2 separate regions of the Homo sapiens genome follow, and region 2 is linked to region 1. Evidence: promoter capture Hi-C in 16 types of primary human blood cells and fetal thymus (Javierre and others, 2016). All regions are on one chromosome and are shown on one strand. The core of a region is centred on a gene start or on the middle of the fragment in contact, and the rest is flanking DNA. Distances in the headings are between cores, read along the strand shown. Region 1 holds the start of FAM133B (family with sequence similarity 133 member B). Region 2 has its middle 110 kb from the start of SAMD9.

Region 1 (6,967 bases), core at 3,409-5,908:
GCACCAAAATATAAAGGAAAACATCCATATTCATTCACACACTGGAGAAAAAAATTTTAAATAATGATTACCTTTATAAAACAAAAAATGTAACTGCGTAAACATTATTATAGTAATAAAGGTAAAGAAAATGACAAAAATCCAACCACAATACTGCCACTCCAACTCAGAGAGCTGAACTGTCCTTATGTAAAAATTCACAGATAATGCAGTGGCAATTTTTCATTCTAATGAAAAAAATTATAACATTTACCATGTTTTACAGTCTTCAAGTTATCTAGCATGTATCTTTAAAGTACATTAATATTTTTACATCTTACTGTGTACTATCAAACTGCTTTCATAAAGTACATACCAACCTATTCCTACTTTTCAGAGGAAAATGCTAGTAAAGTAGTATATTCACATGCTAGGACTACGGGTACAATTACATGAACTACTGCTGAATAAGGCTTACTTTTAAGCTTTTGACCACAAACACTATCTCAGTCTGCTTAAGTACACTCCAAATATCTCCATTGTTTATTTCAATTATAATAGCAATATTTTTTAAAGTGCATCTTATGTTCTAGGCTCCATGCAAAACACTTGATAGTCTGCTCTTATTCATTAAGCAACAATACTTTTCTTTAAAACTATGCACAACAGAAAGCTTTTAAAACAAGCAACTATTTTCACAAAGGTACAGGAGTTTTCATTTTTGTATCAGTGTGAAAAATAATGCTTCTAACATTAAGTGGGTGGCATGGTTAAGCATTCACTAAAATATAGAGATTGTGCAATTTCTTGAAACATTTCACTATGACTTAATCATTATAAACACTGTGACCTTGTAAATCAAACATTCACATCCATATGTAACTAGAATTCTCTGTGGCTTCAAACTGCTGCATGAGTTCAGATAACAGAAAATGATTTGTTTCTGAAACTCAGGATGGCAAATTGGTCTCAAGGGGATATGTATGGGGGCAGGTACAAAAAGAGCAATGCAGTAAAACTGGCTAAAGACACAATGTGCAGAATTTCATTTGTCAATTTGATTACCTATTTTTATCTAGAGGATACATCTATTTTAGAGGTCCCAAAGTAGCAGAAAAGAACATGAAGAACACTTCGGAAAATAACAAGCACAAAAGGTGGCCATCATGAACTTAAGAGCCCTTTACAAGTCCTGAATTAAAACGTTCAGTTATAAAAACTGTACAAGAATGCATACCAAGAGTGACCCCTAATGCAAACTACTGACTCTGGGTGATGATAATGTGTCGATGTAGGTTCATGAAATGTAACAAATGTACCACCCTGCTGGTGCTGGCGAATGTTGATAATGGTAGAGCTGCACAAGTGTGGAGGTATATGGGAACCCTCTGTACTTTCTGTTCAATTTGGCTGTGAACCTAAAACTGCTCTAAAAATAAAAATTAAAAAAACTGTTCAACCTGAAATTCACTGGGGCTTTTTTTGGAAAGCAATCCTATCATCTTTAAAACTATGATTGTTTCATCAATGTAAGAAAGAACAGGAACTGTTTTTGAGACAATCTCAAAAAATGCCAATATTTTCACAAGCAAATATTCATTTTGTTGCTCCAAATCAAGTGTTATGGCAAAACTATGGAGTCAGTAAAAAGATCAGTGGTTGCCACACTTGGGGACAGGGGTGGTAGAGGAATGGCTAGGCCGAAGAGAGGATTTTTACTCTTTATGATACTATATTGGTGAACGCATGTGGTGGCACTCCTGTAATCCGAACACTTTTGGAGGCCGAGACGGGAGGATTGCTTGAGGCCAGGAATTTGAGACCAGCCTGGGCAGCATGGTGAAACCCCATCTCTACAAAAAAACAACAAAAAATTAGCCAGGTGTGGTTCCACACACCTGTGGTCCCAGCTACTTGGGAGGCTGACGTGAGAGCATCCCTTGAGCCTGGGAAGTTGAAGCTGCAGTGAGCCATGATGGCGACACTGCACTCCAGCTTGGGCAAGAGTGAGATACTGTGTCTAAATAAATAAATAAATAAATTTATTTGTCCAAGCCCATAGAGAATGAACACTAAGAGTGAGCACTAATGTAAACTACTGACTGGATGATAGTAACATGTCAATGTAGGTTCATCAATTTTAACAAATGTACCACTCTGGTGAAGGATGTTCATAATGGGGAGGCTATGCACGAGTGGGGTCAGGAGGTAAACGGGATATCTTTGTACCTTCCTCTCAATTTTGCTGTAAAACTAAAAATGCTTAAAAAAAAAAGTCTTAAAAAGAAAATCAAGAGTTAAGATGTACAGAATTGAGTGTCAGATGACTGAAGTTTTGGTCCCAGTTTAAAGTCTTACCCCTCCTCTATGCAATGAGGAGACTGAATTAGACAATCCGTGTCTTCTACCTCTTAATTTCTTGTTCTTAATCCCAATCTTTGAAGTGCACACAAAATGTTACCAGAATACTCTGTGCCATAGCTGCATACCAAAAGTAGTAAGTAGAGCCCAGAGCTATCAAAATGTTCTAGTAAATGAAGCTAATTTGGTAAGTTTTTCAAATGTTTTAGAGGAATGTTTCAACCAAAACGTTTTTTCAGTAATATGAAACATTTTAGGTCTGTATATGAAACTGCATCCAAGGTCAGGTGATCTCTAAACATTCAAGGCCCAAGGGTATTAGAAGAGCCCAAAATACTCAAACACCTAAGGATGCTCCTATGCTGAAATGGTGTTATGCTACATAATTTCAACGCCATGACAATCAAGATAGCACAACAAAGTCTCACCTACAGCCAGGAGAAAGAACAACCCGCTATCTTGTAATCAAGATTCACTACCACAGTGGTTCCTAGACATTTTCCATTATAAAGACTATACAGAACTACAAAGTTTTTAAGATGGTGAAATGGTTTGGATCTGTGTCCCCGCCCAAATCTCATGTCGAATTGTAATCCCCAATGTTGGAGGTGGGGCCTGGTGGGAGGTGACTGGATCATGGGGGCGGAGTTCTCATGAATGGCTTAGCATCCTCCTCTCCCCAGCACTGCATAGAGATGATTTCTCAACAGATGCGGTTGTTTAAAACTGTGTAGCAACTCTCCCCGTCCCTCTCTTGGTCCCGCTCCTGCCATGTAAGACGCCTGCTCCTGCTTTGCCTTCCACCATGAGTAACAGCTCCCTGAGGCCTCCCCAGAAGCAGATGCCGCTAAGCTTCCTGTACAGCCCATAGAACCGTGAGCCAATTAAACACTTTTCTTTATAAATTACCCAGCCTCAGGTTTTTCTTTATAAAAGCCATGCAAGAACTGGCTACTACAGATGGCAAGTGTCATCATTTCGTAAATGTTAAGTCTCCTTTGGTGTGAGACACACACAGCTTGCAAATAATTGTTGAATAAAAAAGCGAGTTCAAGAAACGTAGCACATTCGTTTTACGTGCATTTTCCTCATTTTGCTACTCAGTGGCTAAAACTTTGTCACAGGCAAGCCCAGAAATTGTCAGGCTGCAACCTAAGCTTATTGTTATTTCATTATGTTTACTACTCATTCAATCTGATTCATAACCTGAGTTTTTCAGCCCCCTCCCCGCCCCAGCGGTCTAGAATACTTTCCTCCCATCTCCGCTTCTCAAAAGCACCTTTTCTTTTGAATGCCTTTAGAATCTCTAACAACTATCAAGGACCATTTCCTACTCTTTCTGCTGTAAGTTATTTATGCATCTCTTTTATCTCATTCACTAGAGTAATAATTTTCATGCCCAGTACTCGCTCACACATCTTGCCTTTTGTGATTTCAATTAATCTGTAAGGTTGTAGATAATAATGATCCCCTTTTATAAACGACGGCACAGAGAAGAAAAGTAACTTGTTCTAGGTCACCCAACTTCCGACGGAACAAAACTGACATTCCAGTTTTGTGTTGGACTCGAAAGCCAACTATTTTCACGCCATTCATTCCCTCACAGTGTCTATGGGGGCCAGGTCCTACAGGGCGCTGGAGACACGAAAGCAAATGCTGCCATCCCATTTTCAAACGGGAGCCTGCTTGTCGCTAAAACCAGGCGCGCTGCTGGCTCTCCGGCACAGGGACCGCGTCGAGGCCTCTGTGCCTCCCTCCCACTTGGGTGCGCAGGAGAGGGGTGCGGACCTGGGGCGGCCGATACCAAGGGGCGGGTGAGTCGGATGCGTCCAAGGGCCTAAGTCTTCGGAGTTACATGGCGGGGCCAGGTGTGGGGGGGGTTCCCCGAGCCCTCGCGGTTCTAAGTGGGCACTGGGGGCCCGCGTACAGCAGGCAAGAGTGCAAACCAGCAGCGCCAGAAAGAGCGACGAGGTGAGGGAAGAAAAAAGGGGCGGGCAAGAGAGAGCTGGGAACCCTAAAGCGCCAACTGCGTGCGCGGCGCACGCGCATCTGGGATCGGCGGAGGGTGCTGGGTCTCCAGGCCCCACGTCTGAGGGCTGCCGCTTGCCCTCCGGCCCGGCCGGGAACAGCGAGGGTTCTCGCTGTCCTGCCGCCGGGCCCTGCGTCGCCCCACTGTTTTCCCGGCTGAGTACTCACCACCCGATTGTCCCGCTTCCCCATGGTGCTGGATCGAGCGCACAGTAGCACGCCGAGGGAAACCGGGCCGGAGAGACTGCCGAAGAGGGCCTGCCGCAGGTCCTCTTGCCGCCTCCCCACTCCGCCTAGAGAGCGGCACCACGCGGACTCGACGGCCGCGCTCTGCTACAGCGCCCCCTATCTCTGTGGAGGACAGGCCGGCTCCAGAGATCGCTGCAGTTGGCGGAGCGCCTGCAGGAGTCCGGTCGTTCATTAGGCACCCAAGAGCAGGCGACGCTGCGCTTCTGCACCGGAGCCCCACCAAGGCAGCTCGCTTCAGTTTGGCCTTGGATTGTTTTGCTTTCTTCCATTCTTTTTTTTTTTTTTTTTTTTTTTTTTTTTTTTAGACAGACTCTCGCTCCGTCGCCCAGGCTGGAGTGCAGTGGCACGATCTAGGCTCACTGCAGCCTCCACCTCCCGGGTTCAAGCGATTTTCCTGCCTCAGCATCCCGAGTAGCTGAGATTACAGGCGGCCGTCAACACGCCGGGCTAAATTTTTTGTATTTTTAGTAGAGACAGGGTTTTACCACGTTGGCCAGGCTGGTCTATAACTCCTGACCTCAAGTGATCCGCCCGCCTCGACCCAAAGTGCTGGGATTACAGGCATGAGCCACTGCGCTTGGCCTTTCTTCCATTCTTGATACACTGAAATACTCATTCGAGGGGACACAAAGATTCTCCCGATGCTTATTTTGTGCTTGACAGAGTGCAAGTGCTGGGGACAAAGTGAGGACCAAAGAGCCTTGGTCCCTCACGGAGCCCATCAGCTGGTGGGGGGAAAGGCAGTGCTGTCATAGACGCTGCTAACGAAATCACCCTTTAATTTCAATCCCATTCATTCATCACCTGTGCATTCATTTCACACTAATTTTTGAACATGTAGTTTGTACAGTTTTCACTAACTGGGTGGCTGGAAGCTGGAGCTGGGTAGGGCACAAAGATGATTAAGAAAAATCCCTATCGTCAAGGAGCCTGTTTATAAACTCGTAAGGGCAATAAACACACACAGGGCCAACTTTACTGCATAGCATATCGTAATATTGGCACTACTGCACTGCAACTTTAAGGAAGATGATCTGGGCTCCAGAGAAGATAATCATATTTAGTAAGTATTTATAGATAAAGCGACCCCTCTGGGTTCATCTTAGCAAGTATCATTAGGAAGTAGTTGAAAATCAATTAGGATCTTCTCCGGACTCTTGGAAATGGCAAAATGGGAATTACACTAATTACATACAAGAACATGCTTTAAAATCATCTTTCCCGATCTCTGCCTCCCTCCCTCCCTGCATTTTTCATGCTACACTATATGACAGATGCTCCCAACTACCATCTTCTGTCTCAAAACTTTTCCAAACTCTCACATGCAGTCCTTGGTGGTTCTGCTCCCTACTAAGTGTTGATTCTTCCTCAGTAACCCACTTTCCAAAATGAGGCCTCCAGTCTCTCATTTCTCCTCCTCCTCCATTACCCCCGACTTAAGCTGGGGACTCTGACTGAAGACAGGCTTCTTTTTATACACAAGAGGAAGAGGAGAACCTATTAATATTAAGTTATTCTTTCTTTCCTGGCTTATTTTTCATGTTTTAAATATTCTAGGCATTTGACAGATATTATTTTTAATACTCCAACATGATAAGCATGATAATACCTGTGAGAGAATATAGTTTTTTTTTTCCCTCTTCAGCTCCTTCTTACCTTTCACTTCCTTGGTTGGCTGATTGTACAGAACACAGAGATTTTTAAAAATATGGTATAAGTCAACAGAAAGGTTGTGTTTCCTTTAGAAGTCTCTCTCTCTCTGCGAGTGTACACAACCCCTCCTGGATGAAACGTGAATCCCTGGGGGGACAGAGAAACAAGAAAATGACCAGGGGCCTGTGAAGATAAGGAAGATGGCAAGAGCTATCGGGAGCTCATCTGAGTGGACTACATAAAGAACAAATCAGTCCAAGACTTCTCAGGATATAATTCAGTGACAGTAGAAATCTTTACACATTCTCTGCACATGTGTGATCTGCTAATAAATACATTTCTGTCCTAGCAGTGGGCCTACATGCCCTCCCGAATGTTCTAGGCATAACCAGGAGATTACATTCCATTTTGTGGATGAGAAAAACCGAGGCGAAGGGAAGCCGAGTAATTTGTGCCAGCTTCCACAGCAAGAAAGCAGAGAAGCTGGGGATTCAAACACAGGTGTGTCAAACATGAAAGCATTTACAAGATGCAGTCTCTATTAAATACACACATAGACACACAGGCACGCGTAGACACACACACACACACACACACACACACCCACCCACACCATGAAAGCATATGCTTTCCTTACAAAATCACACTGCCTTTGGGAGGGGAGAGAAGAGAGGGAGGATTGAGAAGTGGCATTTCA
Region 2 (7,132 bases), core at 919-3,418, 420 kb after region 1:
GTCTTCAAACTCCACGTTCTGCCATTCAAGACCCTTGCAAGTTTGCCCACGCTCTTTTGTTTAAACAGTTTTTAGTGTGAACTACAGCAAATACACAGACAAGTATGTAAAACGTGTGTACAATTTTAGAAATGATAATTTATAAGACTCTAGTTATATTCTAGGTACAATGACCAGCACTTTCTTCTCATTATATTCAATCTTCACAAAAACTTAAGGTTTGTGAAGGAAATAAAGACCTATTTTATGAAGGAAAAAGCAGAGTCTGAGGATGAGTGGGTGGTTGGGGGTAGTTTAAGCAACTTGCTGAAAGTCATACAGCCATACAGCTAGAAAGAGGGAAAGGGATTTGAACCGTGGTCTGCTGGATGGTAGAATTGTCTACTTCCTGTTTGGCAAAACATGTCCTCCCAATGCCACTTAGGTACATCATCCACTTTGCCCTGCCCCATCACCATCTCCATGAGGCACAGACTTCGCCACAGAGGCTGTCCATTACAGTTATCCAGATCCCAGGTGAGGGAAAATGGTCATGGGCAGAAACTGTCAGGCAGCCAAGACTCATGCATGGAGGTAGTGACCATTTTGCTACTGCTTATTTGCTTTAGAGCAAAAAAAAAAAAAAAAAAAAGTCATGGTTGAGAACCACATATTTGATTGTTCCCTAACAGAGAACACAGAGAAGTTGTCAGCATAGGTATATTCCAAATACTTCATGAAACTAAAAAATTAAGTGTTTTTTATCTGAGGTTCAAATCTAATTGTGCACTTTGTAATTTATTTGCTAAATTTAGCAATCCTAGTCCTTAAAGAGAAAGGCTTCCCATTATCTCCCATTCTTGGAAGCAAAAAATAATTGAAAATAGCCAAAATAAACACAGAGCAAGAAGCCCAGAAGCAAGAGTCCGTGATCCCTAAATATGGTTTATTTAGGATAAAATTATTTGGTCCCTCAGTTCTCCCTCCAGCTCTGCTGCTTGAGACACCACAGTTGAAAGCAGGTGCTTTAGGGAAAGGATTCATGTGAACTGGAAGTTGGACTTCTAACTCTGAGTGAGTTTGAGCAACCCCTTAATCTCATCGAACCTAGTTTTCTCATTTGTAAAATTAAAACACTAGACCAGGTAACCTCTGAGGTCTTTCCAATTCTAAAAATATTCTCCTTTGTATAAAAGAAGTGAGGAGAAATCAACATTTGCTGAACATATATTAAATGGTCAGTATTGTACAGGATAGTTTAATACATTATTTAATCCTCAAAATAATTCAGAGAAGCAAGTTCTACTATCCTTGAAATCAATGCATGGCAATTCTTGAAGGCAACCTTTATTTTTTCTCTTCTCTCATTTCAAGGAAAGACTACATAGATGCATTACAGAAACGAGTTAAATTCCACAACACGTTAACTAGACATGGTTAGTTCACTGATGATTTGGTGGGGTGACAAAGTACCGATAACATACCAGATTTTCTGCTCTTAATTATGAATTTCCAATCTGCCACTAGCTATCAATTCTCAAATTCTTTTCTTCCAAACCAGTCTGTTGTCCCTAGACTCCTTCCTCAATGGGATTAGACTCAGTAATAAAGTCGAATTCAGGGCATTTTCAAAGTGTGGAGAGGCTGTTTGAACTGGCCAATTGTCACTGAGAACTATCTTTCAAGCACTGAACATCTGTTGGTAAAAAGCTTCTGGCTGACTTTCAAGAGAAACTCTTTAACTTCTATTGATAAGTAGTTCAGTTAAGTAGAAAAAAAAAACCCTGTGAGATTAATCAAATAGAAAATACACACAAAAGCGTTGTATTCTACAATATGCCTTAGTGTTATGCTGCAATTATAATTGGGTTAAAATGGCAAAGATGAGGAGCATGAAATCATTTTAGGAAGCCTTTTGAGTAAGGCTCTTTTCTTTCAGCATAATACTCTTGAAATTAACCCACAGTTGTGCATATCATTAGTTTGTTACTTTTTGTTACTGGGTAGTATTCTATTGTATGAATGTACCACAGTTTATCTATTCATCCTTTTTGACCATTTAGGTTGTTTCCAGCTTTTGGTGACTGTGAATAGAACTGTAGAAATAAAAGATAAAAATTTCATATAGGTTTTTGTGCAGACATATGTTTTTATTTTTTGTGGGTAAATACTTAGAAATGGAATTGCTACATTGTATGGTAATTTTTTGTTTAATGTGTAACTAGCTGCTAAACTTTTTCTCAATGTGATAGTACCATTTTACATTTCCACCAGCAGTGTATGAGAATTTCAGGTGCTCTGCATCCCAATCAACATTTGCTATTGTCATTCTTTTAAATTAGCCACTCTGATAGGTGTAATAAATTAGCCACTCTGATGCGTGTATCATATGATGGCTTCAACTTGCATTTCTCTAATAAGTAATGACATTGAGCATCTTTTCTTGTGCTTATTTGCCATCTGTGTATCTTCTTTTGTAAGTTATCTATTCAAACCTTTTGCCTATTTTTTAAAAATTGTGTGGTTTGCTTTCTTATGAGTTTTGAGAGTTCTTTTATATATCCTGGATACAAGCCCTTCATCAGATATGTGATTTGTAAATATTTTTCCCACCTTGTGTCTTGCTTTTTAATTTTCTTAACATTGTCTTTCAGATCTTTGAAAGTGCAGAAGCTTTTAATTTAATGAAGTCTAATTTACCATTTTTTTCTTTTTGATTCATGATTTCAGTGTCCTAAGAAATCTTTGACTAACTCAAGGTAACCAAGATTTTCTCCTTTTCCTTTTTTCTACATATTTTATCATTTTAGCACTTATGCTTAATTCTGTGAGCCATATGGAGTTAATTTTTTAAATATGGTGGCAAAGGTTCACATTTTTTTCATATGTATACCCATTTGTCCAATACCATTTATTGAAACAACTCTATTCCCCATTTAATAACCTTGACATCATTGTTGAAAATCAAACGGCTGTGTGGGTCTATTTTTGATTCTCTTCTATGTTTGTCCTTATGCAAACACCACATTGACTTAATTAGTGTAGCTTTTTACTAAATCTTAAAATCGAATGGTGAAAAACCTCTAACGTTTAGTATACTCTCCTAGAGTGTTCAAATTTGGAAATACTAGGAGGGGATATTTCTTTTTCCCAGAAAAGGACTCTGAACACTTGTACATATTCTGGAAGCATCCTTTGCTTCCTGCAGTAATTTATATCTGTTACTACTAAGCTTTAAGTATTCCAAGAGTTCATTATAAGTTCTTGCTTTCATGTGCTCTTGCAAATGAACCCCTTAAACAGATCACTTCACGTCCATGATGTGTGTAATTCGTCATGGAAGTCACTAATCCCAGATCTCCATGGAAGGCAAGTGGTAGCATTATTGAACAGCTCGACTTTTCTGACTGTCAAATTATCTTGCTCACCCATGGTTTCCTGATGCTTGGAACTCTGGCTTCTCACCTCAGAGGCTTTGTAAACAAAACAGTTTGTATAGGTTGCATTTGAAATGCAAAAAGCTTACTTTTTAAGTGTTGGGAATTCCAGGGAACATAAAATCACTTTCACCAATTCAATCTATAAAAATGAGAAATCAAGAACGTTAGTCATGCAAACTATAAAGTCACAAATCAAGGAGATTTCTGCTGAAGACAGAGCTTTATCCTTGTTTTTTGGATGCAGGGACCCTCCTTTCTATCACCAAAGGAATATTTTGGACAGAAACAGTTCATTTGCTAGGGTATTTTCAAATTGGAAGAAGTGTGCCTTATATCACACTTACCAGTCTATATTGTCCAATCTATCATTTTCTCTCCCCAAACTAGAAAAGGGCAAAATGTGATAAATATGAGTTTAATGGTGAGTAACAAGTATCTTTGCATAATAACAGCTCATTTGTTATCAATATTATTGAAGGAATAGAACAAAGTATCAGCTTAAAAATTCAACCTTTTTAACAAAACGAATTAACACTTCCTTGTCTTGGTGATGGATAATGCTGAACATAATTTAATCTCACCTAGTAACTCAGGGACTACTGAGGGTATACTGTTGTTTGCCCCTGCATTAAATAGTCCCTAATTATTGTGCTTTTTACTTACTGTATTCACTTAATAACTCCCCTCCCCTGCTGTTGGTACGCCTTTTATTTTGCGATGAGCTAATGAGATTATTCAACAGCTCTGTTAGATATGAGATAATCGAAGCTTGCTGGAATTGTGAGAAAAGTAAGAGCACATGAGTTTTGTGTGAGGCCCAAAGGCTTCTTCTATGAGCTCATGATTTTTTCTCATTAAACATTCTGACATGGTTTGCCTTCTACATGACTCAGAAGTTCTTGGCTTTGTAGTAGATTGTCAAAGTTGCTGGAAATGACCAATCGTGTATGCATGTGTGTGTGTCCGGTGTGGTGTCTACGTGCTAAGTATGTGAGAAGTAAATACATGAATATATACACATAATATAAATTTTAAGTTCCACAAGAGCATTTCTATATGCCTGTATCTATATAAACTTTCAATAAATGTTTGAATTAATTAAAAACTGTATATATTTTGTATTTCTTGATTGGTGACCACCATAGCAACTTCAACAATTTTAGAATTCCTGCTGCCATGTGGGAAATGTGTAATGTCCACCCTGGAACAATGCCCCAATTCCTTTTGGAAGAGAAAGGTATTCTGATAGCATTGTTATGACTACCATCCACACTTGTTTTGGGGGTTAAACTTCCAGGCAGCCAGCTTTATGCAGAAGGGTGATTCACTGTTTCTGTGTCCACTCAGCTCAAAGCCCCTCTGGGACTGGAACACCTTTAGTCTAATTTTCTCAAAAAAAAAAAAAAAAAGAGCATATTTGCCACTTTCCACTTAATAAAATGCCATGTAGAATATTGATATCAAAAGGCAGTTGCAATATCAAGATTTTCATACTTCTATCGGATTAAGAGGGAGTACATTCTTTTGCTGCTAATGCTATTGACAGTCACAAAGATAAAGGGGAATTTAATGGCTTAAGAGCAATTAACTATATTTCCTTCCTGGAATCAATCAGTAAAACACAGCACATCTGAGAATAGAGAAAGGAATATTGGATCCAAATCCCGAAGATCTCATCTGAGATAAATTTAAAAATTAGGACTAATAACACTGGACTATATCTACCATGAGGTAAGATATTTGCTTTGACAAAGCTTTGCTTCAAAAATTTTTTCATCCTCTTTAATCATGTTGGAGGTCTACATCAATAAAGGATCAGTTACTTCTAATGGTATCTGTAAATTTATCATTTTTAATAATTATTAGACTGGTTTTTGCATTCACATTCTTTTAAAAATAATTGTAATATACCTTAATGCTTAAAATGACCAGTTCTCCAAATTGTTTGAAGTTGATTTTGAACCAACTTACGTTACTCATTGACAGCAAGTTGTACCAGTAGCACGTGAATACTTAGATCATACTATAAATCCCAATATAAAGATTAGAGGTAGGGAGAACACAGAAGAATAACAGAATCTTGTGAAAGCCTCTGTGCAAAACTTCTGACTATCTCTTTGTATGCTCAGAGGATCTGATCTGGCACTCAATAGCACAAATCTACATGCCCTTCTAATCAAGATAATCCTGAGATTATGACATCTGTTGGGGCTCAAACTCAAGATTAAGTGTCCACCCTGCAGGTTGGAAAGACACGATGAAGAGTTAACCTTATGATATGGAAATGCTAATGTGACATGAATCTTTGTAAAACTGTAACAAGCCTTCTCACTGTAGAGCTATAGCTTTTCTAAGCATTGCACAACTGACCCAAACTGTATTCATGCAGCGTTCATTTTATAGGAAAAAGTATTATCACCAGTGGTGAATGTATTGGGAAACTAATGAAGCTTAAACCTCAGGGTGCTTCACTTGCACAGGCCCCTTCTAAATAAATCTTCACATCTATACATAAGTTTTTTTAAGACATAAGGGTCTTGCTATCTATGTCACCCAGGCTGAACTTGGAGTCCTAGGCTCAAGTGGTCTTCCTACTTTAGCCCCTGGAGTAGCTGGAACTATAGGCATATGGCACATAGTTTTGTATTTGTATTTTTTAAAATGTTTTCTTAAAAAGGGCCTTAATGTTATGTAAGTATCCAGCCCACAAGACCTGGCTCTGTCCAGCTGTATCCAGTGGGGTTTCTATGTGTGATCAAAATAGCTGGTTTGTGAGCAGCAGTCTTTTCTAAGAGGCACACATCTAAACATTATCCTTTTGTTTCCAATGGTTATCCAGCTTGGTTTTGTTTCTGACTCTACTGTGTTGACTTACAGTTTGCATGACACATCTGTCCAAAAACTATTTCCCTACATCAGAATTTCCCTATGCCAGGCTTGTCTATCCCCCTCTTGAATTTCAGTTTAAGTTTTCAATCCTTCCTTCAATCACATAGCAGTCAGTCATTGCTCGGGTATTCTGCACACATCTGGTCTGGTGCAGATAGGACATGGTTAGCCTTGCTTAGGGTTTTGTGGATGGGCTGTTAAACATGGGAGACTGGTGTGTATCTGCAAATCTCAAATGCGTCTCATCCCTGGAGTTGTGTGTGCCTGTTTCAAATATTTACACATATTTTTCTTTCCAGTCATCTGTCCCCCCAAATATTATCAACAAATACATTGTTGGAAGCACATTGTCTGTTTGAGTGTCATAGAATCTCTAACACTAGGAGATTTCTGGGGCTATGATGGGAAGAGGCAAAAGTTGGAAAAGTTAGTGCCCATTGTTTTGTTTTACAGAAAGTCATATTAAAAAAAATAAAAGTAAACATGTCGTTTCCTAGATTTGCAGACCCAGTTTTCTTTAGTGATGTAAAAATGCCTAGAGAGGCCCTGATAGCTGTGCAAATGTTTGCAAATTGTATCACTTTGACTGATTGAGGGAATTTTAACATCATCAGGTTGGGTGGGCACTAGTAAGATCTGTTTGCAATTGTAGTTCCCTGATGCTGGCCACAACTTAAAAACATACTTTCCTGTATACTTGTTGGCCAGTTTCTGAATGGAGGCAAGGCCTTTCTTCTGCAATCTGCACTCCCATAGCTGACTTTTTAATGAACAGTGGAGTAGAACATACTGTGGGAAAACCACCCTCCCATGCTGATTTCCAG

What was found. Contacts are between HindIII fragments. The CHiCAGO score rates a contact against its expected background, and 5 or more counts as called.
Region 2: a fragment that was not itself captured here is called in contact with the fragment with the promoter of FAM133B in region 1 in 1 of 17 cell types (M1 macrophages); the score reaches 5.8 in M1 macrophages.

What each region holds. Positions count from the first base shown.
Region 1 is chr7:92,585,732-92,592,698 of GRCh38, forward strand. FAM133B (family with sequence similarity 133 member B) reads right to left here and starts at 4,659. Exons shown (of 11, transcript NM_152789.4): 1 at 4,537-4,659. The coding sequence starts at 4,560. It overlaps LOC105375397 (a long non-coding RNA gene), which reads right to left. Exons shown (of 3, transcript XR_927744.3): 3 at 6,289-6,417. RefSeq lists enhancers at 4,387-4,446, 4,537-4,816. The HindIII fragment of the contact is 8,062 bases long and covers 3,496-6,967 here.
Region 2 is chr7:93,007,409-93,014,540 of GRCh38, forward strand. No RefSeq gene overlaps it. Among named protein-coding and RNA genes, the nearest start is that of SAMD9, 110 kb to the right of the region's middle. The HindIII fragment of the contact is 963 bases long and covers 1,688-2,650 here.